Linked DNA regions of Homo sapiens: regions 1 and 3 are each linked to region 2. Evidence: promoter capture Hi-C in 16 types of primary human blood cells and fetal thymus (Javierre and others, 2016). All regions are on one chromosome and are shown on one strand. Each heading gives the region's core, a stretch centred on a gene start or on the middle of the fragment in contact. The rest is flanking DNA. Distances are from core to core; before and after follow the strand shown.

Region 1 (3,295 bases), core at 411-2,910, 510 kb before region 2:
GCCCGCAGCCCCCGCCCCACGCGGCATAGGTGCGGGGGCGGGGCGCCACGGAGGCTCAGGTGTGGGCGGCGGGGCCGGGGCAGCACGGGTTCCCGGACCGCTGCCTCCCGGCGTTGGCAACTCCTCCACGTGCTATCCAGGAAGTAAACAACATCATGAGGAGCGACTTCTTTTTCTTTTTCTTTTTTTTGAGATGGAGTCTCCCTCTGTCGCCCAGGCTGGAGTGCAGTGGCGCGATCTCGGCTCACTGCAACCTCCGCCTCCCGGATTCAAGCTATTCTCCTGCCTCAGCCTCCCGAGTAGCTAGGACTACAGGCGCACGCCGCCACGCCCGGCTAATTTTGTGTATTTTTAGTAGACACGGGGTTTCACCATGTTGGTCAGGCTGGTCTCGAACTCCTGACCTGAGGTGATCCACCCGCCTCGGCCTCTCAAAGTGCTGGGATTACAGGCGAGAGCCACCGCGCCCGGCCGATTTCTTGACTCTTACTACACGTCAGGCACTGTGACAGACTCTTTCTGTGTATCATCTCATCTTTCCCCCAGCTTTACAGAAGAGGAAACTGAGACACACTGAGGATTAAGGTCAAGTGCCCGAAGTACCATAGCTGGCTAGTGTTAGGATCCAAGCCCAGAATCTGCGTCCTGCCAGGCACCTGCAAATGGGGACGAACACGGCGCAGCTAGAGGGGCTGACAGGCTAGGGAGAAAACCACTGGTAGCCGCGGGCACCCCACGCCCTGGGAGTGAGGCGGCAAGGGACAAGTCTCCCGCCCCCTAGACTTGCCTCGCAAATACTTGCGGGTCGAGGGCGCGAAGGCAGCAGGATGCAGCGATAGACTTGGACTAGGTGGTCCAGGCTCTACTTCCAAGTGGGCCATTGACAGGCGGGGCGGCCCTCAGCACAAAATCACCAGGCTGGATGCTCCAGGGTTTCCCAACATTACTCGCTCAGAAGAATCATCTGGGGAGCTCCTTAATGAGAAAGATTCCCAAGCCCCTCTTCCAGAGAGTGAAGTCACTGGGATTGGGCTGGGCCCAGCCAGGTGTTACTAATAATAAGACAAGTTTGGAAAACCCTGCGAGTGTAGATGATCTCCTGGTATGCTCTTTATAAGAACCGATTTTCATATTAAAATAGGTTTCTTTTAACTCAGTGAAACCGGGCGCGTTTTCCTGGCCCACAACCAAGCCACTGAAGGCCCCAGAACACTTCACTCTCAAAAGGTCACGTGAGGCTGGCGCGGTAGCTCACGCCTGTAATCCCAGCACCTTGTGAGGCCGAGGCCGCGGACTGCTTGAGCTTAGGTGTTCGAGACCAGCCTGGCCAACATGGCGAAACTCGGTCTCTACTAAAAATACAAAAACTAGCGGGGCGTGGTGGTGCCCGCCTGTAATCCCAGCTACTCCGGAGGCTGAGGCGGGAGGATCGCTTGAGCCTGGGAGGTGGAGGTTGCAGTGAACCGAGATCGCGCCATTGCACTCTAGCCTGTGAAACGGAGCAAGACTCTGTATCCAAAAAAAAAAAAAAAAAGTCACGTGAGCCGGGGTCACCGGAGGCGTCCCCCAACCGACTGGGCTTCGGAAAACCAAGGGGCGCACGCCGCCCCGCCCCGCCCCGCCCCGCGACTACAAGTCCCATCGCGCCCCGCGCTCGCGCACACTACGCCAGAACAAGATGGCCGACGCGGCGGCCACAGCTGGGGCCGGTGGCTCCGGAACGGTAAGGGCAGGAAGCGCGGGCTCGGAGCCGAGAGAGTTTGGGTATCCTGCAACTTTCCCCTCGACTGAGCAACAAGATAATGCCCAGAAATTCAGCCCCATCATGAGCTCCGACTGGCGGAGGGTGTTTTCAGGCCGTAGGCGCCCCCTCCTTGGGACTTGGCTGCGGCCTCCGGAGTTGGCGGACCTGTGTCTTGATTGGCTCGTTCGCTGTTGGGGGTTGGGAGCCCGGAACACCCCCGATTGGTCTGAAGATGCCGTTTTCGCCTTCTTATTGGCCGGCCAAAGTTGAAAGGCATTCCCGTTTCAAAATATTTAGCTTTCTTACTTTTTTGTGCTTTTATCTTTTGCCCTCCTCTCCTCGCGGTCACCTCTTGTTACTGTTTTCATTTTCCCTTTCAATGAAATGGTGTGAAGATGGGAGGCACAAGAGAGGGATCCTGTTTTTTCTGCGGGACACGTCTTAATCCCATCATGCGTGTTTCTTCAGCTATGTATTCTAATAATCTGCTAAAGTAGAAAGTAAAAGACCTGCTATTTTATCTCATTGGGACTGTACGTTTTAGGTAAGCGGAGAAGTGGTCTCTGTATTTAAAGCACCTTGGGTGCTCAATTTTTACTCAGTTGGCCAAGATCTGTAAATCTAAACATTAAGCACTGATTTTTAAAATAAAATTATTTAGTAAAATAACTTTGCTTGCCGTTGACCACGTATGAACTATGTGATTGCATCCTTCTCCTGTGGATGAAAATCTCTCTGCTGATTCACAGAGATCGGGAAGTAAACAGTCCACTAACCCTGCCGATAACTATCATCTGGCCCGGAGGAGAACCCTGCAGGTGGTTGTGAGCTCCTTGCTGACAGAGGCAGGGTTTGAGAGTGCCGAGAAAGCATCCGTGGAAACGCTGACAGAGATGCTGCAGAGCTGTGAGTACATGGAAACACTTGGCCTTGGAGTCAACCCCAACATCAGTTCTGTGCCCTGCTTTGTGATAGTGTTTGAGAGGATTTAAGAAACAAACTTTTTTCTTAAGAGGGGAGAAAAAAAATTTTTTTTAATGTAAAAAGTTGAGAAAAGAAAACAGCACAATGGGCCGAGCGTGGTGGCTCACGCCTGTAATCCCAGTACTTTAGGAGGCTGAGGCGGGTGGATCACCTGAAGTCAGGAGTTCAAGACCAGCCTGGCCAACGTGGCGAAACCCCGTCTCTACTAAAAAACACACAAAAAAATTAGCTGGGCGTGGTGGCAGGTGTCTATAATCCCAGCCACTCGGGAGACTGAGGCAGGAGAATCGCTTGAATCTGGGAGGCAGAGGTTACAGTGAACTGAGATCGCACCACTGCACTCCAGCCTGTGAGGCTCCATCTCCAACAACAACAACAAAAACAGAAAAGAGCATAATGAAGTGACTTACAGGCTTTAGAATCAGATAGACTTGGTGTACATCATCACTCTGTCACTTAATAGCTTGGGCAAGCCACTGAATCTCCTGAACCTCAATTTCCTCATTTCTGAAATGGGATAACAGTTTCTACCTCATGGATTTGTGAGTGTAAGTGAGATGTATATAT
Region 2 (3,379 bases), core at 599-3,098:
GCTGGTCTCAAACTCCTGGCCTCAAGTTATCCTCCAATCTTGGCCTCCCAAAGTTTTGGTATTACAGGTGTGAGCCACAATGCTCGGCCTGAAACAAATAATGTTAGGAAGCAAATAATGTTAAGAACAGAAATTGCCTTTACAGTCTATTAACGACTTAAATTCTATGTTAGGACAGCTCAAGAGATGTTGTTTTTGCTTCTAGGCTGGGACAATCCCAGTTTTCTTCCAAGTTGACTCTGTCCTGAGTGGATCAGTGTAAGGAAGTTGGGCAAAAAAAGAAAAATACATAGAAGAATATTTCAAGATATCTCATTATAAATATCTGTACAGATATGTGCATACTTTTTTCTGGACAGACTCATAAGACAGTGTCAAAAATGATTTTCTTTGGGGAGAGGGACTTGGGGTAAGAGGAATAGGAAGTTTTCAATTTTCCTTTTTTAAAACATTCCTTTCGAGTTTGAATTTCTGATGTTTTATATGTATATATATATATAACTTTTAAAAAGTGATAAGAAGGCTTACTTGTATTGTGAGGTTACAGGGATACAGGCAGTTTCTTATTTCCTTTTTTAAAAAACTGGTTAATATCATAGTATTGGTTTAAAAAAAATCCCAAAACAACATAAACATAAACATGTCCTAAACCTGGTCTGGCTCAGAACTTTTCCCCCCTATATGTAATTTACAACCTACTTCTGGGAATAAATTAACACACTTGACAAAAGGTATAAACAATTTTCTGACAAACTCTAGAGACTGAAGACTTCTAAGAAGCCCAGTCACCCAGCTGTCAGTCAAGAGTCTAATTACCTTTAACTAAACATAGTTTTCTTTGATAGCTAGTCTAACAATGTTTACCTATTTCTTTTTTTTTTTTTTCCTTCTTTTTTGATACAGGGTCTCAGCTGTGTCACGCAGGCTGGAGTGCAGTGGGCTGATCACAGCTCACGATGGCCTCAACTGCCTGGGCTCAAGCAATCCTCCTGCCTCAGCTTCCCGAGTAGCTGGGACTACAGGCGTGCCACCACACCTGGCTAATTTTTTGATTTTTATCAAGAGGGTCTCGCTATGTTGTCCAAACTGGTCTCAAACTCCTGGGCTCAAGTAGTCTGCCCCCCTCGGCCTCCCAAAGTGCTGGAATTACAGGCATGAGCCACCAAGCTTGGTCTGATTATCTGTAGAAATTAAATGTCTCTATCAAGAGGAAATCTTTTAATTGGCCTAATAGACTCTTTTTCCTTTGCAGCAAGATTTGTGATAAAGTTTATAAGTGGTCATCACTAAAGTTTTTGAAAAATTTTTTAAAACATGTTTTAAACCTTCAAAAAAGTGGGTAATGTTCACCTCCATTACTCGTATAAAAGATATGGGTTCGATGGATGACAGGACATAGAACCACAGGAATAGAATGTAATTCATTCATTCCTTTGACAAGTATTTGAGTGCCTACCCTATGCCAGACTGGCAAGTCCTTGAGGGTCTACCATGTGCCAGGCAGTGTTCTTGAAGCTGGGGATACAAAAATGAACAAACGAGATTCGGAGAATAAAACTACAGTTCCCACAGTATCTTTCTCTTTGGCTTTTTTCCAGGGGGCGCTGCTTTCCGCGACTGTCTTCCCATGATTCTCGTTGGGCAGAAAAGCCCCGCCCGCTTATCTGCCATTTAAGCCAGCGCCCCTTGAGAATGGACTACAACTCCCACAATGCATTCGAGGGGCACCGTGTTAGGGCGCCACCTTTTTCCCGGCTGTGCTGTACCTACAGCACCCAGAACTACAGTACCCAGAAAGCTCCGCTTCCCCTCCTGGGTGTTATTGCCCCTTTCCTGGTGCAGGACGCGGTAGTGGCCAGCGAGAGTGTCAGGCCTGGGGTTTTCTGTGTCCTTCCCTGGGTCAGGGACGAGCCAGTGACTTGACTCTTGGGCGCTAAGCTTGGGAGGGAGCGCAGGAGGCCGCTGTCCTTCCTTTCCGGTTCACGTCACCCTTCTCTCCCTCTGTTGCTCCACCTGCAGCCACTTGGACGGCTCCGGGACTGATTGCCTGGGGCAGGGGTGGCAGTCGAGGCCGCCGGGGCCGAGGTGAGGCTGCAGCTCTCCGGGCGGCGGTAGCGCTGGGGAGGAGGAGGAGAGAAGATGGCGTCGGAGCTAGAGCCAGAGGTGCAGGCCATCGACCGGAGCTTGCTGGAATGTTCGGCCGAGGAGATTGCGGGGGTGAGTGCCGGAACCCGGGCGGGTGCGTCTGCCCCTCGCAGGCCGCGCCTGTGGGGAGGAACCGACTCCTGGACGTCCTGGAGCAGCCCGACCCAGACTTGGGGAAACAGCTGTGCCGGCCCTCGCCTTGTGGGGTAATAGCCCGGGGAGGCCACCGATCCTGCCCCTCTCTTTCCATTTTCAACAGCTGCCAGAGCTGCGCTGTGCACTAACTACGTTTACTTTCCCTTTCTGCCCAGGAGAACCCACGGCTCTTCCATCATACCTCCTTTCCCCCAGCCTCCCATTAAGTCTCCCAACACATGGGCCTTTGCCCTTTATATCAGCTCTTGGAAGAGGAGAAGAGACGCTTCTTGTGTTTTTGGTATAATCGCCCTAGTTTATCTAGTTAATTGCTTTTCCTGAGACAAGCGAAGCCGTGTGCTCCTCCGACTAAACATGCCACCCTAACCGAGCCCCTCTTTTGTTTTTGGGACTGCCCCAGGCACCAAGAAGGCAAACGACACTACCCTTCGTTATCCGTTTCAGTGCTATCTTTTTTTTTTGCACCGGTTTGATTAGTTGACAACGTTGATGCATGTGTGGAAAGTTTACTGAGTATGAGAAAGTAGTCGTGGAGTCTGGGAAATTTTAAAAATATTTTTTCTAGGAGTTAGGGGTAATTGGATGGAGAACAAATGTTATATAACGTTGATAGAGCAGCTTTCAACAAATACTGTATAAGCTAAACGTGAGAACTGGTCACAGTGTAGTAGGAGCAGTTATATTCCAAACGTAAAACCGTTCAAACGCACTATTGCATTAAAACTGTAATATGAATATGCTAGTGTAAATAGCAGAGTTGTAGGAACACCCATTAGAAGAGATTGCCGAGAATGATTATGAATGGACCAAGACAGCTTGGGCCCCACCTCTAAGACCTCCAATTAAAAAGGCTGCTAGGAAGGGAGTGACCCGTGAATAAAAGTCAGCAATCTGAATGCTACGAACAAAATTTGGGATTGGGGGCACTGTGGAGCTGTTGGTCAGTGAGTAGTTATTTTGCGTGAATTGGTGAGGACATTAAGTCCGGGTAGAAAGAAATGTCAGGAGTAGAGGTGAAGACTTTAAAGAAATACGTTGTTAAATGCTGAATCTTTGCTTGTTTGGGTGTGTTTTGTTG
Region 3 (3,535 bases), core at 927-3,426, 770 kb before region 2:
CACTCTGTTGCCCAGGCTGGAGTGCAGTGGCGCGATCTCGGCTCACTGCAAGCTCCGCCTCCCGGGTTCACGCCATTCTCCTGCCTCAGCCTCCCGAGTAGCTGGGACTACGGCCGCCCGCCACCACGCCCTGCTAATTTTTTGTATTTTTAGTAGAGACGGGGTTTCACCGTGTTATCCAGGATGGTCTCGATCTCCTGACCTCGTGATCCGCCCGCCTCGGCCTCCCAAAGTGCTGGGATTACAGGCGTGAGCCACCACGCCCGGCCTTTTTTTTTTTTTTTTTTTTTTTTTTTGAGACGGAGTCTCACTCTGTCGCCCAGGCTGGAGTGCAGAGGCGCAATCTCGGCTCACTGCCCCTTCTGCCTCCCGGGTTCAAGCGATTCTCCTGCCTCAGCCTCCCCAGTAGCTGGGATTACAAGCGCGCGCCACCACGCCCAGCTAATTTTTGTATTTTTAGTAGAGACGGGGTTTCACCATCTTGGGCAGGCTGGTCTCAAACTCCTGACTTCTCGATCCACCCGACTCTGCCTCCCAAAGTGCTGGGATTACAGGCGTGAGCCACCGCGCCCGGCCACATTTATTTCTTTTTGAGACAGCCTCGCTCTGTCGCCCAGGCTGGAGTGTAGTGGCGGACCTCAGCTCACTGCAGCCTCCGCCTCCCGGGTTCAAGCGATTTTCCTGCCTCAGCCTCCCCAGTAGCTGGGATTACAGGCGCGCACCACCACGCCCAGCTAATTTTTGTATTTTTAGTAGAGACGGGGTTTCACCATGTTGGCCAGGCTGGTCTCGAGCTCCTGACTTCGTGATCCGCCTGCCTTGGCCTTCCAAAGTGCTGGGATTACAGGCGTGAACCACCGCGCCCAGCCTGACCTTACACTTACTAGGCACAAAAATGAACTCCAAATTCCCACGTGGGTCTTGAGCAACCTGCCGTCACAACCACGTATCAACGCCTCGGGAAGGTGGTGATGGAAGCCTTTCCCCCCAGTACATTTCGTTAACTGTACAACTGACTCAGTGACCACAGGGTTAATAAAACACATTGTTTTTCCAGGAACTTGATACTAAATTTGGGACTCTTTGCTGCGGGAGTTTGGCTGGCCAGGAACTTGAGTGACATTGACCTCATGGCACCTCAGCCAGGGGTGTAGCCAAGTAGGTAAGCACTGAACTACACCCATGCGTGTCTTAGGAGACCTAGAGACTGGGTGAAGCAATGTTTTCTGTCAAGTATTCATGAAATGTACAAAAGAATGTGATGTAAAACCCTTAACTATTCCTAGTTAAATGTGTTTTCAGATGTTGAAAGGGATTTAAGTATCTCTTACCAGTTTCCCTCCCATACTTTTACAGTTCTAATGCCACCTGTCGTCTTATCATCTGATTGCAGACAAATGGAATCCTGTGCTGAACCCGAATCTTCCAAAAAACAGCCTACAATCTGTGACCACCACAAGATGTGCCCTGATGGCAGCTGAAGTTTGATTCAGATGGGCACTTTTCTTCCCCTTCCCTGCCTAGTTTCCTTTTGTTCCTTGAGTCCACGCAGAATTCCATTCTCTGGTCAGCAGACAGGCTTAAGCTAAAGTATTGCCTCTATTCTGTAAAGTTCTGTACATAGTTCCCAAGCTTCTGCAGGGGGTGATTTTTGCTCTTGTCCTGAGAAATAACAGTGCTGTTTTAAAAAACATTTGAAATAAATACCGCACACAAAGGCAGTCATTTTATTCTTTTAATAAGAAACTTTTGCTTACAAAAACAAGGTGTAAAAAGATTTACAAAAATCATAAAAACATGATTTATATTTCACACTTGAGAGACAAAAACAAGCCCCAAAACATGGATTTTAATGGAGGTGGTTTGCTTCATTTTAAAAGGGAAAAAAAAAAAAGGAAGCTGTAACCATACATTGATGTTAACCTAGCATGAAGTTTATTCTTGAAGAATTTACATTGTTGAGCAATATTAGGGGAAGAAGCCATTTGGTGTTGCATAGCATTTTAGTGCACCAGATGGGTTTTCCAGACACCAGGGAGGCATCATTGCTGGAATAGTGAGGTTTGGTGGCAGAAAGAGGGCAGTGATGTGTAGGGGGAGGCAAAGTGAAGTAAGCCTGGGCAGTGGTCACTAAAGTGACACTGCTGAGGCAGCTGCTTCCTTCAGAAGGAAATGTTTTGTGACCCTAAAATTCATGGTAGTGCTACTGTCCAGGGTTTGGGGGCTCTTTGGAAATGGAGTATGTACGGAACTGGCATGTATAGACTTATATAGCCATAGAAAGAGGTGGATAGAAACAGGTCCACCATGGCAATATTTTTTTCTGGCCAGTTTACTAGGCATTAAAAAAAATACTGCTTTTATGTGCCAAGTCTCTTATGGAACTAGTATGGGATTAAAGGACGTTAATTGGAAAGGAGGGTCAGTATATAAGGACCACAGTGGCCTGTTAAGGATGACAGATGTCTCTAGCAGTTTGTTCACTACTAAAGTTAAACAGGACAAAATAGTCTTTCCTGACCTTGCTGGCATAAATATTAAGAAAATTGTTTGAGAATTAGATTTTTTTAGTATGTATATAAAAACAGCACCATTCTTTGTATAAATCAGATAGATCTTATCTGATAGATGAAGCTAAGACCCTTTGAGTCTACACTGGGTTGACTCTGAGAGGTTTATATCTTATTGGGTATTAAGATAAAGAAGGGTCACATGAGAGCAAAGCTTAGCTTTGAAGCCATCACCTCCCAAATGGTGACCAAGGAGGAAACTTTTAAGCCATAGTATAGATGCTAACCCCCATTTAGACCTGCATCAGATCACTTGCTAAGACAAGAAATACCAGCACCTCCTGTTCTTTATAGGAATGAAACTTAGATCCTTAAAGGCTGCTACCTGATATACTCATGACTGGACAGTTTTGATAAAAACTTCCAAAATTGAAAATCAAAATCCAGCAAGAATTAAGACATGGCAGCTTCCAAAAGCATAATTCAAATTTCATTCAAAATTTACTGTTTTGGCTTCAAGTAAGTGTTTACTGTTGGTTGGGTTTTAAAGCCATAATTATGGTTGAGTAAGGATTCATTTATTTATTTATTAAATTTTTATACATTTTTGAAAAGATTTCAAATCTATGTTTCCCAGGCTGGTCTTGAGCTCCTGGCCTCAAGCAATCCTCCCACCTTGGCCTCCCAAAGTGTTGGGATTACAGGTGCTAGCCAACTGCATCCAGCCAATGTTTCATTTCAACTGGCTTAAATCTTCAAAGTGGTTAAGAATTTAGTAAATAAAACTACTTAATCTACAACTTTCAAAAATTGATGAGTAATCACTAATTCTGTAAATGAAGGAGTTGGACTTCACTATTGCCAAAGCAACATTTTCCCCAAGGAAAGTCAATTTGATATCCTGTCACACTTTTCAGCCCTGGCTAGTTAACACAGTACTATGAAAATCTTTAGCTAGATTTTAAACGAAATATGCCAGCAGAAGTATGGAATGAGTCCACAAAAATGAGTGCCTGCCACAATGC

Evidence for each region. Contacts are between HindIII fragments. The CHiCAGO score rates a contact against its expected background, and 5 or more counts as called.
Region 1: the fragment with the promoter of TAF8 here is called in contact with the fragment with the promoter of UBR2 in region 2 in 1 of 17 cell types (erythroblasts); the score reaches 5.2 in erythroblasts.
Region 3: a contact is called between a fragment that was not itself captured here and the fragment with the promoter of UBR2 in region 2, in 6 of 17 cell types (total CD8 T cells, non-activated CD4 T cells, naive CD4 T cells and 3 more). The highest score is 8.7, in total CD8 T cells.

The regions. Positions count from the first base shown.
Region 1 is chr6:42,048,864-42,052,158 of GRCh38, forward strand. It overlaps TAF8 (TATA-box binding protein associated factor 8), which reads left to right and starts at 1,661. Exons shown (of 9, transcript NM_138572.3): 1 at 1,661-1,723; 2 at 2,494-2,650. The coding sequence starts at 1,679. It also overlaps a transcript of CCND3 not described here. RefSeq lists a silencer at 1-147 and enhancers at 1,284-1,835, 1,617-2,166, 1,836-2,387. The HindIII fragment of the contact is 9,233 bases long and covers 1-3,295 here.
Region 2 is chr6:42,562,181-42,565,559 of GRCh38, forward strand. It overlaps UBR2 (ubiquitin protein ligase E3 component n-recognin 2), which reads left to right and starts at 1,849. Exons shown (of 47, transcript NM_001363705.2): 1 at 1,849-2,217. The coding sequence starts at 2,140. RefSeq lists enhancers at 1,411-1,490, 1,561-2,080 and a silencer at 3,113-3,242. The HindIII fragment of the contact is 771 bases long and covers 1,166-1,936 here.
Region 3 is chr6:41,788,175-41,791,709 of GRCh38, forward strand. TOMM6 (translocase of outer mitochondrial membrane 6) reads left to right here. Exons shown (of 3, transcript NM_001382294.1): 2 at 1,058-1,162; 3 at 1,394-1,721. The coding sequence ends at 1,154. It overlaps USP49 (ubiquitin specific peptidase 49), which reads right to left. Exons shown (of 8, transcript NM_001286554.2): 8 at 1,722-3,535. Among named protein-coding and RNA genes, the nearest start is that of TOMM6, 2.2 kb to the left of the region's middle. RefSeq lists an enhancer at 1-207. The HindIII fragment of the contact is 1,092 bases long and covers 1,631-2,722 here.